Linked DNA regions of Homo sapiens: region 1 is linked to region 2. Evidence: promoter capture Hi-C in 16 types of primary human blood cells and fetal thymus (Javierre and others, 2016). All regions are on one chromosome and are shown on one strand. The core of a region is centred on a gene start or on the middle of the fragment in contact, and the rest is flanking DNA. Distances in the headings are between cores, read along the strand shown. Region 1 holds the start of CCNB1IP1 (cyclin B1 interacting protein 1). Region 2 holds the start of SUPT16H (SPT16 homolog, facilitates chromatin remodeling subunit).

Evidence for each region. Contacts are between HindIII fragments. The CHiCAGO score rates a contact against its expected background, and 5 or more counts as called.
Region 1: a contact is called between the fragment with the promoter of CCNB1IP1 here and the fragment with the promoter of SUPT16H in region 2, in 1 of 17 cell types (monocytes). The highest score is 7.4, in monocytes.

What each region holds. Positions count from the first base shown.
Region 1 is chr14:20,331,203-20,334,668 of GRCh38, forward strand. It overlaps CCNB1IP1 (cyclin B1 interacting protein 1), which reads right to left and starts at 2,077. Exons shown (of 7, transcript NM_021178.5): 1 at 2,052-2,077. RefSeq lists an enhancer at 1,847-2,156. The HindIII fragment of the contact is 11,464 bases long and covers 1-3,466 here.
Region 2 is chr14:21,382,345-21,386,064 of GRCh38, forward strand. It overlaps SUPT16H (SPT16 homolog, facilitates chromatin remodeling subunit), which reads right to left and starts at 1,675. Exons shown (of 26, transcript NM_007192.4): 1 at 1,518-1,675. The coding sequence starts at 1,583. It overlaps CHD8 (chromodomain helicase DNA binding protein 8), which reads right to left. Exons shown (of 38, transcript NM_001170629.2): 38 at 2,855-3,720. The coding sequence ends at 3,269. It overlaps LOC107984643 (a long non-coding RNA gene), which reads left to right and starts at 1,929. Exons shown (of 2, transcript XR_001750627.2): 1 at 1,929-2,369. The HindIII fragment of the contact is 3,293 bases long and covers 1-2,344 here.

The DNA.
Region 1 (3,466 bases), core at 827-3,326, 1.1 Mb before region 2:
CACATTTTCTAAGTAAACACTGAAAGCATGCCCTTTCTGCCCCTGTGAATACAAAGATGACTTGGTTGTTCTGGGCCACTGCTGTCACTCCTTCCCAGCATTAAACACATGCTCATAACAAGATAAACCATCCCCACTCAAACCAAAGTGGGCAAAGATATATTCACATAAAAGCCATCAAGATGATTTTCCTTTCGGTAGAAAATCCTTTATTGCTCAATCAAGTTTAGAGTATTGATTGGTTTCTAATCACCACCGTGTACAAAATAAATATAAATAGGAAGCACTGCAAAATATCTAGAGTCCTTTTAAACAAGAATATACCAAAACCCAATTGAAATGCCTTTATGCCAACTGACTGATTTACAAGGTTATTCATTTGAGGGGGAAATATCAAGATCATAAACTATCTGAATACCTACTGATAAAAGCTAAATAAATTATAGTAGGTACATAAATTAGAATACTGAGTTACCATTATACCCTGAAAACCTACTGAAAAAATATATTTTTTAAAAAAAATAATTTTTAAAGAATACTATGTTACCATTATGAAGAATGTGAACACTCTACTCATGGAACTTAAGTGGAAAAAGTAAGACACATAGTAGAGTAGGTATAGTAAAAGGGAAGGATACCTACACATATTTGCTTATATGCATAAAATATCTTAGTAACACTGTTATGAGGGAGAGGAATTGGATGGCTTAGGGAAGGGGATAAGAAACTTTGATATCTTTTGAATTTTGAACCATGTGAATGTATTACCTATTCAAAAATATATATATATATGATGTGTATACATATATATATATATATATATATTTTTTTTTTTTTTTTTTTTTTTTTGAGACAGAGTTTCGCTCTTGTTGCCCAGGCTGGAGTGCAATGGCGCGATCTCGGCTCACCGCAACCTCCACCTCCCGGGTTCAAGCGATTCTCCTGCCTCAGCCTCCCGAGTAGCTGGGATTACAGGCATGCGCCGCCATGCCCCAAAAAATAAATTTTAACAATGCTTGAGAATTATAAAAATTATGGGAGGCCTACAAATACCTATTACTACATTCGATTAACTGGTTTATTATTTGTCTTTCTCACACTTTCTGCCTATAAGAATATCCAACACAAACATCACATTAAAATTAACATGTACCAAAAGAAAGGAATTCAGTGAAATGACATTGAAGGTCACTAAGCAAACTTTTTATGAGAAAACAGATATCCAAAATACTTGCTGTAAATAAATAAGTACTGCTTACTTCTAAAGGTACCTAACATTTATTACACACCAACTAGAGCCTAGTTTTTATATATTTTATCTGATCTTGGAAAGCTAAGCCTCGGAATGGCTCACTGCTTCTCCCAAGGTCACCAGAGCTGTAAACTGTGGCGCTGGAATTTAAATCTAGAGGCTTGCCCTGAACTAAGGTCCCTAATCTTTTTCCATAGCTTTTAAGGACACAATCACCACAGTGGCAACATTAAAAATTAGGAGCTCCTTTTAAGGCTTATCTGTCTTCAGAGTTTGCTGCCCAGGTTCACCAAGAAAGCCGAAATGATCTGAGCGAAGGCCAGGAGAAAGACAAGGTACGCTGCAGCTTCCACAAACCCAGTAAGGACCTGGGCCCTCTAGACACTCACCGGAGAATTAAACTCTACTGAGCTGAACGCCTTCTCCCGAAATCTGACCTCACCCAGGGAGATATAAATCAAAACAGCATTAGGATGATAATATCTTTCCCGCCAAGCAAAATGAAGCCGGCGTTTTCCAAGAACACACGCACTGTGCACATGAAGCACAGTCTATTGTTCCTGGGTCACCAGGACTCGGAGACGGAAGGCAAACCCAGTACTGCAGAGGCCCACGTGGAAACAAGCCAGGAAGAGCATTTCACTGCCTTCTCCCAACCTCCACACAGCCGAAATTAATCTCCTTGCGACTCACACACACTCCTATGCCGACTTGAAATAAAGGCCTGCCACCTGGGTATATAACTCAAATGGAAGAGAAATTCAAAACAATTAGAGAGCAAAATTAAGCGCACACTCACCAGCCCACCAAAACGGAGAGGGAAAGAAAGTGGAGAGACAGGAAGTCGCCTTGGGAAGTGTCTTCAGAACCTGATTGGCTAATGAGTTCAAGAGGATTCCCTCCTCCTTTACCTTAAAAGGTGCTGAAATGACGTAACCCACTCCACCCCTCTTTATGGACCAGTGATGCTTCTTGCACTATTTTTGGAGTGAACTTCTTAAACCGAGTTTCCTTTTGAGTTAATGTACTTAGGCAAAAACAGGCTAATTTAAGCTATTTATACACGTTGTTGTTTGCGTGGGCCTACTGCATTCTATTCTAAAGAATTTTCATCCCTTAAGGGTAATTTCTTATCCTTTGTGACCTCAACATGCTTAACTTATGCTAGGCAACAGATTCCATTATAAACAGTCTAGATCGATTCAAGTTAAAATTTACCTTCATTTTTTCCCCCCAGATCCAAAGCTGGCCTGATAAAATTTACCTTCAGGTAATCTTTGAACTAACAGGCTTAGTAGATAAAAGGTAGGTGGGTTAAGTGTTTTAGGCTTCAAATAAAATTTAGCTGATTTTGAATCTGAACCTTGCCACTTATTTGCACACATCTAAGCCTCAGTTCCAACTATAAAAAGAGGGAAAAAAGATGAAATCTTCCTACTCTGATGGTTATGAGGATTAAGTAAAATAATTTATATAATGTACTCAGTACAATGCCCGGTACACAGTACTCAACAATGTTAGCTGTTATTATTGTTATTACATATTTCTTGTTAGATTTATATTCCCAAGTAGACTATAAACAACTGGAGATCAAAGTGTACGTTTTACACATCTCCAGACAAAAACAATGACTTTCAATGCTGAGGACATAATTGATTAATCAATTATTTTGACTCCTCACATCGCCCTCCAGTTAAAGTATAGGTTCTTACTCTGTTAAATTTTTTTTTTTTTTGAAACAGGGTCTCACTTCGTGTCCCAGGCTGGAGTGCAGTGGTGAAATCTCGACTCACTGTAGCCTTGACCTCCCAGGTTCAAGCGATCTCCTGCCTCAGTAAGTAGCTGGGACTACAGGCGTGCACCATCACACCCAGCTAATTTTTGTATTTTTTTGTAGAGATGGGGTTTCGCCATGTTGCCCAAGCTGAAAGATTTCTTTTTAAGCCATAATTAGAGGACTCCCCGGCACAATATTCATCATTATTCTTAATAAATACTATTATAGTAATAGGGAATATATATACAAGTATGTGTTATATGTACAAATATACATGTAATGTGCAAATGTTTGAAGTATAAAGATTCAAGTTATATGGAGAAATGATACAACTCTAACTCATAGTAGTTCTCATTTTTTAATCATTTCATCCTATCCACCCTGCTTCCACCTTACTAGAAATTACCTATTCCAATCCACTTTAGAGTTTACCTGCC
Region 2 (3,720 bases), core at 425-2,924:
TACAAAAAAAAATGGTGGGTGGGAAATAACTTTCATGGATTTAAAGACTATCAGTTTTATTAGGTTTGCCAACCTGTCTTCAGGCCACAGTTAATTTGTCATGTAGAGGAAGTGAGAGCTATAGATTAGTTTTCATGAATGGTATAGAGAGAATGAAATTATTTGATGAATCTGAATCACTGGGACTAGAAACAATTTTCATACCAAAGGTTCACAGTTTCAGGGTTTATGGGTACAAGAGAGGGCTTCGGATTTTTAGTACTTACTGATCATTAGAAAGTATCAAGGTTTTAAAATGTTTTTCTAACATCGATTATGTTTGAATAATATGACACTGAGAGAAGCTGCAAAAAATCATTTGGTAGAAATTAATCAAAAAATTAAAAAAAATAAAATGTTCAGTATTCATCTAGCATTTAGTTCTTATTTTTCCTTTTCATAAAATGCAAGAGAATCAATTTTATTTTCAATTATCTAATGTATTTAGCCCCAAAAGATGAAACATGCACAGACAGCTTTAATATGAATGGCAAGGAAACGACCAATTTTAATGGCTTGGTTTTAGTAGATGACCAGTTTGAAAGATAATTTACAATGCTGAAATGAGAGCTGATCATTTTTCTCAAAACGTTTTTCAGGTTAAAAAAAAATCTTTATTAGCTGTATCTTCCCTTGATGACAGGGTTCAGGGGCAAGACTTAAGCTAGCCAACTCAGACTGCATCACAGAATGCAACCAAATGTTTGCTCAATTAGTAAGTTAACATCATAAAAATAAGTTTTAACTGTGGACGTTTTTAGAGCAGCAAAACTGCCGAATCTTTAAAAAACTGGGAACTGCCACAGCTCTTTTAATGAACACGTGCCCCGGATACGCTACCAAGGAACTAATAAGGTTTTAGGCATCGTTTTGTTTTGTTTTGTTATTACTAATGCCTGCAGGCTTTCAGCGTTAGGTCCCTCTCTGTAACCCACAGCAGGGCCTAGAACATGAGGCGGTTGCGCGTGAGCAGTATTTCTTTTTTTAACTCCAGCAAAAGCCCCGCAAACGATAAACGCTAAAAGCCCGATTGACATCCTCCTTGCCCTTCCATCTCTCCTTTACGAAGACGGTTATAATCCTGGCGGGACCAGGGGTGGAATATTGTGGTTCTGGAGGGACAGAGCGAGTGCGTGAGAACACGGCAGGGGAGGGCAGCAAGACGTGACCACGGAGTAGGAGGGAAGGATGTTGCCTCTTCTAGGGCGGGAAGAGACTGCGAGAGGTGCTGCTATGCATGACCAAGGCTGGCACGCGGGGAAGATGGTGATGGCCGCAGGACAGGGTGAATGCGGGGGATTCCCTGTTAAGGGGCAGCGTTCGTGGCCGCCTCCGGTGAATGATTCGGGAGCAACGAAAAGGGTGAGGCACAGAACCCGGGAATTCCTGACCGAAAGAGAAAAAAGGGCGCCGAGAAACAGGGTTATTATGGGATGGCTAAGGGGGCTCCCTAGGAAAAATTACAGGATCTTCCTCACCCGCCAATTGCTGTACAGTCTCTTCACTCGCCGATAATAAGCGTCTTTGTCCAGAGTCACAGCCATAGCCCCGGACGCCGCTTCTCCTCGGGTTCCGAGAATCACGCGAGGTCCCGGCTCAGCCACCCGCTCTCGGCCCAGGAATCCCGCACTCTCCCAATGACCCGGAAGTATCGACCTCAAAGATGCCCTTTCCGCTTCCGGGTCCCAACAGCGTTAGGTTTTTTTTTTGTTTGTTTGTTTGTTTTGTTTTTTTCCAACCCTCTTTCGGATGGACGGGGGAAAGAGAGAAAGAAAAACGAGGGAAAATCAACAAAATGTGCGATGCAAAGAGTCGATTTTCGCGGGGTTTGTCAACTTCGCCACTGCCGCACGCGAATCGACGTCGTCACGTGACGGTCTGCCTCCGCCCTTATTAACTCTCAGCCCAGCGGCGGTTTCCAGGACCTCAGACTTTTTGCCGAGGCGGCAGTCCCTAGACGAAGCGAAGGAGGCGGCGCCTGCCCCGCCCACAAGAGCTGCCGCGCGCGGGTGTTATAGCTCCACCCCATCTGCAAAGGAAGGGGGAGCGGAAAGAGCGGGATCTAGCGTGGGATAAAAGTGGGACTACTACAGTGTAACTGGGCATGCGCCCCTCCTAGAAATGATGGGAATGCAAAAGCCCTTGACTGCTCCAGGACTCGAGGGATCCTCGGTGCCAGGATGCTGGGTCAAGCGCTCCGCCGGGACAGAGGACTCATACCAGGGAAATGGAGCCCAGCCTCGTGATAAACTACGACCCAAGCTGGGGGAGGAACCTAGTTTTCGAAAGGAAAATAATATGCGCAAGCTTTAACTGAGCAGTGGGATGGTGTAAGTCAGAGGAAACAGATGACTTGAGGGGCTCTACAAACTTTTAGTTCCTTCCCACAACCCCACCCCCTGAGCCCAAGTCGCGGCAGCATCCTTCCAGTCGGCCAGTCCCCTTGCTGCAGTTCATGAAAACTGGCACTATTCTATGGCTTCCCCCAAATAACCGTTACTTCAGTTAATTAGAAACAAAACATAAATGGTTCCTGATGACATTCTTGCTCCCTGTCTCTTCTAAAAACTTGGAGTTTGAATCCAGAAGTTTGCCTACCTACCATTTACCTTAAATAATTCCCTTGCCTTTAGCCAGCTGGACAGTCTACATTTGTATATACCCTTTAGAGGAGTACAGATGACTTGTCTGCTGTAAGGCAATTTAGTATAAACAGTATTGAACTTAAGGAAAGTGGTGCTGAAATTACCCACCATTAACAACTCAAAATCAATACACTGGGTTTGAGCAAACATAGAACAAAGGAAGAGTGGAAAAGGATTAACTTAAATTTATTAATGCCAAGGGGAAAGAAGGTAACAGTTCCTGACCCTCCAGCTGTATCCACAGTTCGGCCAGGAACAGGCTCTGCCAGAGGCTAGGGCCAGCGCTACATAGTCTGTGGTTAATGGAGGTGACTAGGGAGGGGTGAGCACACCAGCTGCTCTAGTCTCCTTTCCTTCCCCAGAAATGAGGAAGTGGTCATGTATTATTTTAGGAGTTCCCCTGCCCACCCAATCCTCTCATAATTGGGAGCAATCAGGTACATTTTTTTTTTTTTTTCCTTTTCACCTCCTGGAGTCCTGGACTTCCCCACATCTCCCCTGCCCCTCCCACGTTTCCATAGTCCAAGGGCCAGAGTAAATGAAAATACAGCAGCCGCCCAAGCAATGGGGCCCATGCTGGGGCTTCAGTCATCAGCATCTTCACTGGAGTCTGAGTTAGCTGGCATCATAGGATCATCAATGAGTGAGAAGTCCCTTTCTGAGCTATCATAGCCCTGAGATAAGTCATCATCATCTTCTTCATCCTCATCGTCATCCTCCTCAGGTTGCAGTGGTGGCAACCGCAAGGTAGTACCAGAGGCGGTAGTCACTGGTGAAGAGGGGTAGCCAGGGGCTCTCAAGCCTGGATGGTGATGGTGGTGATGGTGGGGGTGGGGGTGGTGGTGGTGGTGATGAAGCATGGTGCTGGAGTCTACATGAGGGGATGATGGTGCACCACCCATCACAAATGGCATAAAAGGCAAAGATGCAGAAGTGGCACTGCTGTGACCCAAAGATGACACAGACTGTAGGCCACTACTGCTGTGTTGGAACGTGTTATGCAGAGATAGAGACCCAGTGCTTCCACCCTGCATGA